Linked DNA regions of Homo sapiens: region 1 is linked to region 2. The links are contacts of gene promoters, found by promoter capture Hi-C in human tissues and cell types (Jung and others, 2019). All regions are on one chromosome and are shown on one strand. The core of a region is centred on a gene start or on the middle of the fragment in contact, and the rest is flanking DNA. Distances in the headings are between cores, read along the strand shown.

What was found. Contacts are between HindIII fragments. The study calls those that stand out against the background at their distance.
Region 1: a contact is called between a fragment that was not itself captured here and the fragment with the promoter of OR10AG1 in region 2, in 2 of the 25 tissues and cell types used here (adrenal gland and mesendoderm cells).

The regions. Positions count from the first base shown.
Region 1 is chr11:56,062,822-56,069,657 of GRCh38, reverse strand. No RefSeq gene overlaps it. Among named protein-coding and RNA genes, the nearest start is that of OR8I2, 27 kb to the left of the region's middle. The HindIII fragment of the contact is 3,281 bases long and covers 161-3,441 here.
Region 2 is chr11:55,968,567-55,975,163 of GRCh38, reverse strand. OR10AG1 (olfactory receptor family 10 subfamily AG member 1) reads left to right here and starts at 5,219. Exons shown (of 2, transcript NM_001005491.2): 1 at 5,219-5,272. The coding sequence starts at 5,257. The HindIII fragment of the contact is 11,099 bases long and covers 1,015-6,597 here.

The DNA of each region.
Region 1 (6,836 bases), core at 552-3,051, 98 kb before region 2:
TTTTCAAATAACCAATGCATATCTGTCAATTATTACCACATTTTGCCTGAAAAATTAACTTTTATTTACAAAAATACAAATGTATATAAATTGGTACCATCTTCTAGGCCTAGATTATTGTGCTTTTAGCAGGCTTTGTCCAGACTCTTAATTGGAGTACCATGTACCATTTTTTGGAATCAAATGAGAAAGAAGCCAATTCCTAGTTACTCTAAACCATATTTTAAACATTAAGTCAACAGTGTCCTACTAGATAAGCGAAATTTATAGATGACTGGCTTCCTTACATAGCCATGATACTGTACTGTACTTTCTCTCATTCAGTCTTTGGCATGCTTCGAAAAAGGGTGTCTTAATTTCCTGACCTGGGTTCCAGTAACTCAGAACACCGATTTACCTTTCTGCTCATAACAAAGTCCTGTTTGTTTAAGAAGCATAAACAGTAGAACTGGGAAGGAGTGAAGAGCACAAGGCACCGGTCTCCTTGACAGGGCTGGATTCAGCACTGGGTCTATCTACGATGGTGATCAGGGTCAACCTAGCAGCCTTCATCATCCTCCTTCTGTAAAGGGAGTGTGTGAGGACACCATGGACAGAGGTGAATCTTCCAAAAGGGTGGGATGGAGTACATTGGCTCTGGGCCTCTTTGAACCAGGTGAGGATATAAATAAATACTTCAAACAAATTGGGATACTGGCAGCTTTACTTCTCCAGAATAAAAATAATATGTTTGGTCACTTCGTTATCTTTTTACTTGAGAGATACAATTCTTGCAGAGTATGTAAAACTCAGGAAAAGAAGAAGACTACTGAAATAATGACAAACAAGCAGAGAACTTTGAGATCTGGAGCATCTACAGGGATAGGTGAATAATCCCCATGGGAATATGTAGTTATGACTTAGATTACAATTCCTCTTTATGAAAGACTGTTCCACTGAATTAAAACCCTGATATTTTTCATTATTCCAATGAAAGTTACACAACTATTTTGAAGCTAATGTAGAAAAATAGATTGAAGTGTAGTATGAGGGTGAGAACAGATAGCCAGGTTACAAGTTCCTCCTGTCCCTGTAATTTGAAGTGTTTATCAGATAAAAATATACTTTTTCAAGTATAAAATACTTATACTTTTTAATACTTTTAAAAGTATAGATATATGAACCGTTCTCTTTTCTTCATTTTAAAATGTTTTAACTAATTTGTAGAACACATATGTTATTCAAATAAGTGAGTTTAACTTACCAATAGAAGAAAAAATGTTCAATACCTCAGCTCATTTAGAAACCTCCATAACCACCTCTTCCCATGGTTTATCTCTCTGTAGTCTGCCTAAGACAAACACAAAGACAAAGCACGGACAATAATTAGTTAAATTTGTCTTAAATTTATAGTGATGCATAAATTAAGTAAATGATATTGTAATAGTTACAGGTAGCAGCACTGATATTCAAACTTATTCTTTACAATATGAGAATCATAGGTACAACTTCCTTGGCATGAAAGTAAGAGGAAGATGATCAAAACACACATATGTTTATTACAGCACTATTTAAAATAACAAAGACATGGAATCAACTCTAACGCCCATCAATGACAGACTGGATAAAGAAAATGTGGTACATTTACACCATAGAATACTATGCAGCCATACAAAGGAATGAGATCATGTCCTTTGTAGGGACATGGATGAAGCTAGAAACCATCATCTTCAGCAAACTAACACAGGAACAGGAAACCAAACACCGCACGTTCTCACTCATAAGTAGGAGTTGAACAATGAGAACACATGGCACATGGAGGGGAACATCACACACCAGGGCCTGTCAAGGTGTGGGGAAGGGAAAGCCTTAGGACAAATAGCTAATACATGTGGGCCTTAAAACCTAGATGACGGGTTGGTAGGTGCAGCAAACTACCATGACACACCGTATACTTATGTAACAAACCTACATACATGTTCTGCACTTGTATCTCAGAACTTAAAGTAAAATTAAAAAAAAAATCAAAACATAAACTTGTCAGGCCAGGCATACTGTAATCCTAGCACTTTGGTAGGTGGAGGTAGTTGGATTTCTTGAGCTAAAGAGTTCAAAACCAGCCTGGGCAACATAGCAAAACCCCTTCTCTCCAAAACACACAAAAAACCTGTGGTCCCAGCTACTCAGGAGGCTGAAGTGGGAGGTTTGCCTGAGCCCAAGAGGTCGAGGCTGTAGCAAGCTGAGATTGCACCACTATACTCCAGCCTGGGCGACAGAGTGACACCCCTTCTCAAAAATAAATAAATAAAATGAAAATGAAAAACACAATTGTATTAGAAGATAATTTTAGACAAAAAGTTTAGTTATGTATTTGTCTTAGTTCAAATTGTTGCAGGAGAAAGGAGTCAAGATGTAGACCTCAAGAGAGGGTTCCTGGATCTGATGCACAAAGGAATTCAAGGCAAGTCACAGAGTGTGATAAGAGGTAGTTCATTGAAAGCTACTCAAATACAGATCATGGTGTCCTCAGAAAGCAAGCAGAGGAACGTCTCATCTTTAAGCTTTATTTATGTTGAAATCTTACCTGTGTAAAAATGAGGCTAAGCTATGTCTACCTGCAGGTGAGCTGACATCGTAGCAAAATTTATCATTCTGTTGATTTAAAGAAAACTATCCTTGGCATTTTAGTGTCTAAGCAAATCAAAGCATAACTATAATTACCTTAAAAGCAAAGTTGTTACACAATACTGAAGCATCTAGACTTTTTTTTTATCAGAGGAGTTTGTCCTTACACGCTTTATTCAACTGCTTCCTTAACTGTAATCATCTTATGACCATGGGCAGTGACAGGGAAGGAATGTGCATTGCTAGTTTTAAGATGGAGCTGATTTTAAAGTGGTGTCACCCTGGCTTTTCTGTGTTTGTGGTTCCCTAACAAAATGGGAATAAAGTCCCTGGAGTTAATCCTCTCATTAAAAGGATATAGTACATATATTATTGAAAATTCTTCTTTGTTTCTTGAGGGATTTAGGAAACTGAAGAACTTAATGGCTCCCCTAAGGCATTTACTTTCCTGAAGTTTACAATGAATAAAAGGAAATGTGGGGCAAGTGTGGGGGGAAAACCAAATGCATGATCTCTGAAAAAATTCAATAGAATTGCTAGTGGTGCTTTCTTGGTACTCTCTCATGCTTTTAAGAACACGTTACTTGGGCCTAGTTGTCCAAGTAATAGAAAAAAAACAGCAAAAAAAAGCAATAACATAAAAATATCAAATCAATTCCATTCCTTGATTTCCTTTCCAAGAATATCATCAAAGAAAATTAAAACTACTATTTCTTAAAAGGCTTTCTTAAAATCAACCCAGTCCCCCTCTCCTGATTTATTCCTCCAGTCCTGCAGGTGTCCCCTGATGGAGTCAATATTGTGGCTTTTTCCAGCTTAAACTGTATCATGAGGGATTTTGGTGACAATGTTTCACATGTTTCTCTTACATATGTGGCTACATAAGAATGGGCCTTTATTCTTTATACTAAAAACAATTAAATTTCATCTTCTTGAATTAAAATGTATTAGTTTCCTAAATTAAAGGTTAATGGAGCAGATAGTAGGGGTGAGGACTGGGTGATATTCTAAGATGAGTTAGTACAGGAGATGATCCATTATCTCAGAAACCTTAAAACATTCTAAGTACCTATGATGCATTCTTTTTTTAAAATATAATTTATTTCCAATCTGTATATGAAGAATAAATAAATAAATATTATTTTCTCCTAGAAAATTGTAGATTAAGGAAAAAAGAATCTGAAAATACTTTATAAACATCTATATTTGCAGGCATTCAGCTGACAAGAACTTAAACAATAAACAAAACAAGCAACCCAAAATTTAAAACAAAATACAAAAAGAAACCACAGCAAATAAGTACATTCAGAAGAACCTAATGGCTTAGTTAGGATATTTAGAGTATTTCTGAGAATGCAATTGAATTTGTCACATGGAAACACTCAATAGCATTATTTCAAACTTATTTAGCTTATATTTGTCAATGTTAGGTTTTTTGTCATGTAAGAAGTCTTTTTGTGAAAAATATTATTCAGAAGTTATATTAATGAATGCATTAGGTCTCTCCATATTAAAATGTCATATTTCAGAGAAATGTTTTTTAAAGTGAAAGCTGTTGACAAATATAATACAATAAATTTTAATTATTTTAAAATGCATATAATTGAATGAGTTTTGACAAATGTGGACTCCAGGGCAATTACTAGCACAATCAAAATATAGAACATTTCCATCATCCTCCAGACCTCTTGATTTACTGCCAAGAAACCCTTCTATCCTACTGTCAAACCCAAGAAGCTTCAAATCATCACTATATTCCTATGTATGAGATTTGCTTTTGTAGAGTTTCATAAGATTGAAGTAGTTCAATGTATGTTTGTTTTTTCTTGATTTTTTTCAATCTCAACAGGTTTTGAGAATCATTCACATTGTTGCATGTATTGCTAGTTTTTTTAAATTGTTGAGTACTATTCCAATGTATGAATTTTGTACATTATGTTTATTCAGTCACCTGTTGCCTGACATATGGACTGTTTGCAATATTCAGCTATTATTTATAAAGTGGCTATAAATATTAGATTAAAACTTTTGTCTAAACATAACTCTCTGTTCTCTTGGATAAATATCTACTAGTTAAGTCTTCCAATAAGTCAACATGTATACCTATCCATTTGTTTAGCCCTTCTCCAATTTCTTGTAGCAATGCTTTGTAGTTTTGGTTTTTATAATTGAGTCTTGACTTATTTTGTTAAATTTATTTCTAAATATTTTTTTGCATTTTTATACTAATTTTAATGAAAATATTTTTCTAATTTCAGTTTCAGATTGCTTGCTAATAATATGTAGAAACATGACTGATTTTTATATATTGTTGTATGACTTGCTTAGGAATTTTTAGATACAGAATAAAGTCCCTTGAGTATAATGAGCATTATACTTCTCTTTTTCGACTTGAATGCTTTTAGTTTCTTGTAGATTTTATTGTTCATTTCTTGATTAATAATTTTTTTCTTCTTTTAAATTTTTCTTTGCTGACATTTAGGCCTGTCAGAACTAGACTTTGTTTTTGTGTATTGTGTGTTATTTAATAGGAATCTCCAGTAAAATATTGGATAAAATCGCTCTACCAAATGTAGAAAGTCTTGTTTATTATCATTTCAGGACTTTTTGCTTTGTTCTGTTTGATTTTTTTACTTCTTTCTCTTCTCCTCTGACTTCTACAATATATCCATTAATATCATTTATTATGTCCACAGATTTCTGAGGCTTTGTTCACTTTTCTTCATTCTTTGTATTTTTTGTACTTCAAATAGAATAATTTCCGTTGATCTGTCATCAACTGTACTAATAGTTTCATCCATCATCTCATACCCATTTTTGAATCCTTCTAGTGGATATTTAGTTTTAGTAATTGTACATTTTATCTACAGAATTTCCATTATGTAATTTTGTTGTTCACTTTCTTTTTATTGAGATTTTCTATTTAAAAATCTGATTAATAATTACTGTCATACTTTCTTTTAATTATGTATATGCATTCAATTATTTGACCATATTTTTGTAGTGATGGTTAAGTCTTTTTGTCTGCTGAATCCAGCATCTGGGTCATTCAGAGAGTTTCTACAGACTGATTTTTTTCCCCAAGTAACATTTTTCTGTTTCTTTGCAGGCCTTGTGCATTTTTGTTGAAAACTATACATTATAAAAAATATATTTTAGATACTCAGCATTTTATATGTGCAGCTTTATTAAACTATCTTGGCTTTTTGATCTGATTTGTTTTAGTTATTGTTTTAAATATATGTATAAAAATATTTCCACTGCCTTGGCTACTTGCCTTTTACTCTATAAATAAATTCTTCCATATTAATAGAGTTTAATTTTCATTGTGATGTTCAGAACCCTTTGTGTCCTATTTAAAAACGATTGTTGCTAATAAGTTTACATTTTATTATTCTACCTTTCAAATTTTCTATATTTTGATGATTTACCTTATGTTTTAAACTATGAATTTTTGCAATACTAAATATAATACACTGTTCCTTTTTCTGTTTATCACACAATGCTAGAGATTTAGATATAACTCCATTGATTCAGTCTATGTTTTGTATGAGTATTGCCATACATTTATATTTAAATTTATCAATAAAATGTTGGTGTTGTGCAGCCAAAATTTAATCACTATTTATAATTATCCACAAATTTCATAATTACTCTCCCCTTTACTTTCTATCATGTTTTGGTTACAATTCTGTTTTCATCTTTTTGTCTAAGAACTATGTTAAAAAAATACACACACAGACATATATATACACACACACGTTGTAAAGTACCTTAATTTTAAGTATACAGCTTATTTAAAGCTTTATATTTATGTACATCAGTAAAACTACCACCCAAATTATGATACAGACATTTTCAGCACTTCAAAATGCTTCCTCATAGTCAAAATATTTAGTTTTACTTGTTGTTAAAACATGTACAAATGAAATCTTACATATAGGCTTATTGTGTCTGCTTTCTTTTTCTGAACATAACAGTAGTGAAATTATCTATATGAATGTTTATATTAGAAGTTTTTCTAAAGCTATACAGTCTTTTATTTTGTAAATGTATTAACATTTGTTAATTAATTTTCTTAATGAATTTTTTTCTAGTTTATAAATATCAGTAATAAAACTTCTAAAGAGTATTTTTGTGTATGCATTGTGGTGAACATGCACAATAATTTGTAAGTGGAAGCACTGGCACTGGGACATAAGTTAGGCATATGATCTGCTTGTTGTCAAACA
Region 2 (6,597 bases), core at 3,970-6,469:
CACACCATTTTAGTCATTAAAGACATAGGAATAAAAATCCAGAACCTACCCATGACTATGGCAAAAGTTGAAAATTCTAACAGTGTCAAGTTTTGGCAAAGGTATAGAAGTATTTTTACTCTCATACTTTGTTGGAGAGAATGTAAAAGAATATAAGTGCTTCAAAAAACACTTTGACAATTTCCTAAAATATAAATAAATTCTATAACATGATTCATTTATCCAAAATAAATGAAAATATGTGTCAAATGTAAACCGCGTTTATGAATACACACAGCCGCTCCATGTACAACACCAAAACATGGAAACAATCAAAGCTCACCAGCAGAGGAATGCATAAGCAAATTACGGTATGTTCATCCAATGGAATTCTATTCTGCAATGACAATGAAAAAACTATTGATATTTACATCATAGATGTCTCTTAAATCTTTATGCTAAGGAAAAAAACTTCACACATAAAAATGTATATTCTGTTGATTATTAATTATCTTTAACTATAGGAATCTGATCTGTGGTTTCCTTGGGTTACAGGCGAAAATGAATGATATTGAAAAATTTTAAGAAGGACTGTTTCTGGATAATGTGAATGTTCTGTACCTTGATTGTGGTTTCACAATTGAATATGTCTGTCACCACATTGAATTTTAAATATAATTAAATATATTTTAAAGTATGTAGTTTATTTTCTGAAAATTATGCTTCAGTAACATTGTTAATATAAGAGTAAGACCATATTAAAAATAATAATTACATTGTATTAATATAAGATGCAAATATATTTTTATAAAACAACTAAAATACATGGACAAATATCAGGAATAATTATTGTGTTGTAAATTTTAACATTTAAACATAAATATAAATGTATTCAAGTTATCACATGCTATGTTGCATTTGAAACTTGCTTTTAAATACAGGTTTCACAATATAATATGTCAATTTTAGTTTCTCCATTTACTTTCAAAATTGTCAGAGTTAGATAATAAATAAATTGATGCTCTAAGTGATGCCTAAAATCTCAGAGAGCTACCAATTAGCCAGCTTTAACTTGAAACAGAGAGGCATGAGGGTACTAGGATATTTAAAATCTATATTTCAGAAAAATTTGTCACAGGGATTGTTGTGCAGTAATTAAATGAGAGTTTTTTTTTTTTAATTTCCAAGAAAATGTTACAGCCAAAAACATCACAAGGTCAAGATTACTAAATCTTTGACTCTTCGATCTGTAAATAAATTCCAGGTCCTCAGACCTGCTTCACCATTAATTGAGATGCAAATCTGAGCAGGGTGCAAGGAGACTGGGATTGTTCAAATCTCCTTTAGATGCCACTGCAAAAGAGGTAAACAAGGTAGAGTGGAACCAAGCGTTTAGAAGAAAAATTAATAAAGGAATCTATTTGTATGCAGGGTAAGTGTCCTTAAGATTCTACCCAGAGAAATAGTGACAGCTGTCTCTCCAAAAAAAAAAAAAAAAAAGCATCAGCATGTTCCACTCCAATGTCACTGTATACTGAGTGTGTAGTGGAAGAAATATTTCCATTTTTTATTCATTGGTCTCTTAAACTGAAGGAGATCACCCATACCTAATATAGAGAAATGGGTAATAATCATAGATCATAAATTTTTAGGGCTGAACGTTATGGCATTGGGGAAATACCTTCTATATTTGGGAGAAAGAGTGAAATACCCTGGGGTGGAATCTGCCTTGATGTTCTCCAAAAATCGTTTTGTTTTTTTGACCTACAGTAATACAACATCCCCTAGCCCTCTCACATTTAAGTTAGATCATGTTAATAGTTTCTACAATAGCATATGTGTGGAAATGACGCATCTATCATGTGCTGAGACTCTTTAGAGGGAGTTTCTTTCCTTATGCTCTGTCCATACTTGGTTCTCAGCTCTCTGAATGCTCGTGGTCCAATAGAGAACTACAAAGATGACCTAGGGAACAATAGGACTATCAGATGGAAGGAAATAGAGTTTTTTAATTACTAACCACCACATTGCACTATGATATGAATGTAAGATACTTCTTTATTTTGATAAGGCGTTGATATATCTGTGGTAATGTTTCAGGTTTTAGACTTGTTCAGGTCACTGTGGTATTTAAATGAATTATGAAATACCCAATTTATCCAATTCTCCTTTTTCATAATACACCAGTGTACTCCAGTGGAAAATGGACATTCAGCTTGTCCCAACCTGGTAATGGAAAGTTTCTGGAAAATCATGAGTACCATTTTCAATTGTAGATGGAAATGAAGAAAGCCCTCTTTGGACATACCAAATCAGTGATAATAAAGAGTACAGAGGAACAATGTAGGAGAGGCATGCTGTGGTATAGAGAAGCAGATTTAGCATGCATAGAGGAAGTTGGTTTTAGAAACATACTGTCAAATGGTCATAGAACGCCAAACAAGAAGAAACAAATGTAACTCCACATAGAAGTAGATTTGGTGCTCCTGATTTTATGCCTGAGAAACATCACCATACACACCCGGAAGTAGCTGCAATAGGGAAAGGATGTTGAAAAGTTTCTTCTTTTCCTTCTGTTTTAAATAATCTAGTTTAAAATGTTTATTTTTGAAGTGGCTTGCATTAAATTTTTTTTTTTTATTGTAGGTTCAGGTGTCCATTTGAAGGGTTGTTCCACATGGGGTTTGTTGTACAGATTTCACCCAGGTATTATTTTTTGTTTTTCTTTTGAGACAGAGTTTCACTCTTGTTGCCCAGTCTGGAGTGCAATGGCACGATCTCGGCTCACCGCAACCTCCACCTCCCAGGTTCAAGTGATTCTCCTGCCTCACCCTCCCTAGCAGCTGAGATTACAGGCATGTACCACTACACCTGGCTAATTTTGTATTTTTAGTAGAGATGGGATTTCTCCATGTTGGTCAGGCTGGTCTCGAACTCCTGACATCAGGTCATCCGCCCTCCTCGGCCTCCCAAAGTGCTGGGATTACAGGCTTGAGCCACAGTGCCTGGCCCTCACCCAGGTATTAAGCCTAGTACCCAATAGTTATTTTTTCTGCTCCTCTCCCTCCTTTCATTCTCCATCCTCAGGTAGGCCCTCCATGTGTCCATGTGTTCCCATCACTTAGCTCTCACTTTTAAGTGAGAGCATGCAGTATTTGGTTTTCTGTTCTTGAGTTAGTTCGCTAAGGATAATGGCCCTCAGCTCCATCCATGTTCCTGCAAAGGACATAGTCTTCTTTTTTAATGGTTTCATAGGATTCCATGATGTATACGTACCACATTTTCTTTATCTAGTCTACCACTGATGGACATATAGATTGATTCCATGTCTATGCTATTGAGAATAGTGCTGCAATGAATGTATGTGTGCATGCATCTTTATAATGGAATGATTTCTATTCCTTTGGATCTAGAGCCAGTAATGTGATTATGGGGTAGAATGGCAGTTCTGTTTTTACCTCTTTCAGGAATCGTCACACTGCTTTCCACAATGGTTGAACTAATTTACACTCCCATCAAGACACTGTAAGTGTTGCCTCTTCACTGCAACCTCACCAGCATCTGTTATTTTTTGACTTTTTAATAATAGTGATTTTGACTGGTGTGAGATGGTATCTATCTCATTGTGGTTTTGATTTGCATTTCTCTAATGATCACTGGTTAGTGATGGAAAGTTTGATTTGCATTTCTCTAATGATCACTAGTTAGTGACCATTAGACCCGCTCAGGGAGGGACGGGCCCACAAACGCTCCGAGGACAACGGCTCTGCAGCAGGGCCAAAGGTGCACTCACTCCGGGAGCAGTGGCACACAGGATGTATGGGCACACTCACAGTGGCAGGGAAGGGAAGGCAATGTCCTCTGGCACACACACTCACTGGCAAAGGGATGCTGGTATTAGTGTTTTTATAATTAGCATAAATAATAGGAGAGAGACATAAATAGGGGGTGGCTATGGGTGAGTGAGTGCAGGCAAAGTGGCCCGAGAGGCTGCAGTGCAGGGAGGGTGCTGGTGGGCTGGCCTGTGTCTGCACAGGCTACTCTGCTGGATCAGTCTGCTGGTCAGCCGGGGGTCCACCAGCACAGGAGCTATGATGTGGCCCCCAGGAGGTACCTGGCTGGGGGCCAAGCTGGGACCCAGGAGAGGCCAGCAAACTGAGTGGTGCTGAAGTTAGAATAGCCTCATGTAGTGGGTGAGACTGCCGTGCAGAATTCAGGTCCCATAGTTCCCATAGGGCTAAAGCTTCCTACGGGAGCAGGTCAAGCCTGGGGGGATGGGCATCCCTGGCCATGCTCCACTACAGACACTTTCACACTAAACCCTCTGGATTCCACACAGGCTGGAGTTCTGCCCCTACCACTTGTCTAAGCATCTCTCCCTGCCAGTTCAAGTGTTACTTGTGGTCCAGGGGTTTTCTCCTGCTGGGATTCGGAGGCTCATGGAAAGAGAGGGTTGCTCCTTGCCCATTCAACTCATGCTTTTGCAGGAGTCACTGGGGGCCAGGAATGCTTCCTGTGTGTGGTACCCCCATGCAGAATTCCTTTCCTTCTGAAGATTTGCTAGGAGTGCACCAATCTTCCTGATGTCCTGGTCCCTCGTGGGCGATGTTCCTCTTGACTGCGTCTAGTGGGACGTCTTGGAGTGGTATATTACATTTTCAATCAGCTGGATACATTTCCCTGGTGCCTTATAGACAACACAGAATGAAATAAATGTATAGATAGATTTTCTCAGCAGAATTAACATGTTTTAATATCCACAAAAAAAGTTAACCTAGGAACAGAGGGTTCCACATCTGAAAAAGAATCTCACCGTTCAATATGTCGAAGACATCAAGCATATCATGTTCGTGTGATTAAACACATGATATATTTTTTAAAGGTCTAGTTAATTTGGATCTGGATAAATTATTGGAATAGAAGTAAGGCAGACAAATCCACACTAAGTATTAGGGGCCTCAAATACACAGTTGGAAAATTTTTAACTTTTTCCTGAAAGTAATACTAGACAACTAAATGGTATTTAATTAACTCCCCTCATGAGGAGATGAAGAGGAGGATAAGTTTACTTAAAGTAGTTTTGAAAAATGAATCAGAATGATTGACAAACAGAAGCAGCCTTCTAGAAATTAAACTGATACTCAAGAGAAGACACATCCCAGGTTGAGTCTGACTATTCCTATATAAGAGCTGTTGCTGTTTGAAACAAGCAAGCGTATTGCAAAATTACAGTTCCCGAGAAAAGGAAGAGCTTAAAAAGTCTGTACAGACAGCTTCATGCAAATCCCTAAAGGTAAGCCATAATTGGGTTGACAGACTATTTTATTTAAGAATAGTTACAAGTTTGTGGATAGAAATGCAACTAATAAAACAGAAAAGCATGAAATTTTGAGACCTTTATCTGAAAATTAATTATTTAACATTTAAATCATGTATCTCTTCACTACAAAGTTAAATAAAATTAGATGTCCAATAATGGTAAAATTGCATTAGTGATGAAAAGTCATTTAAGGCAATTTTGAAAACTAGTACTAATAGAAATGTATAAATATGAGATAGTATTTGTCTGATCACTTTCATTTATCAACGTATTAAGTCAAATGCATTGGCTGACCGGGCTAAAATAGGTATAGGTGCAGCAGATTTGAAGACACAGAAAAAAAGAATTTGTTTAGAAAGTTGGAGAACAAACGTTAAGCAAGTGTAATGGGAATTGACAAGCAGTGATTTCCTCATATTGGATGACATTGACATGAAGTGAAGCAAGACAGTGTGTTTTTGTTTTGTTTTGTTTAATTTTTTGGTCCCATTTATATGCTCTGGCCACTTAGATGGCCAGAGTAAATGTTAGCTGGGTTTAATCAAAGAATTTTACTTTAATAAGGCAACAGGATGAAGGGAAAATAGAGAGAAGGAATTGTATTTGGTTGAAAGGAACTGTATTTGGTTATATGACAATGGAGAAATTCACTTAGATAAAAAAAAGAAATGTAAAAAAAATTGTGATGAATTTCTACATCTTGATTAAGTTATAATTTAATTACTATTTAGCATTCACTGTATTCAGGGCAATAACAGGGGAAGTCAATAAACTGCCTACTGGTATTAGTGTTTTTATATTTAGCATAAATAATAGGAGAGAGACATGAAGTAGAGCAACAATAATGCATGTATTTAGTCTCTCAGTAACCAAGAAATTGTTTAAGATAATTGATTCTCACTGGTGCATAAAAGGAAAAGTTTAAAATTCATTTTGAGTATGAATTAATCGTAATATTCAAGGGCAACATTTTGAATTAAAAAAACTGGAATATGACTACCAATACAAAGAAAAATGATATTCTCAGATGAAATAGTAAAAGCCTACACTATAACTCTACTCTTAAGTGTGAAATAATAAGATGTTATTCCTCCATAATATTTTCTAAACAACAATGCATGCTTCTCAATGCCTCTGGTTGCATTATATCCCAGTATAATAAAATATATTGAGGTTTCATTTCTTAAATTGATTTTAATGCTAAATCAGTTTATTATCTAGAAACAGAGCAAGTACTGGTGAAAATGACTTAAGAGCTTAAGTAAGTATATTCCTGTATCTCATTTAGTTAACCCAAG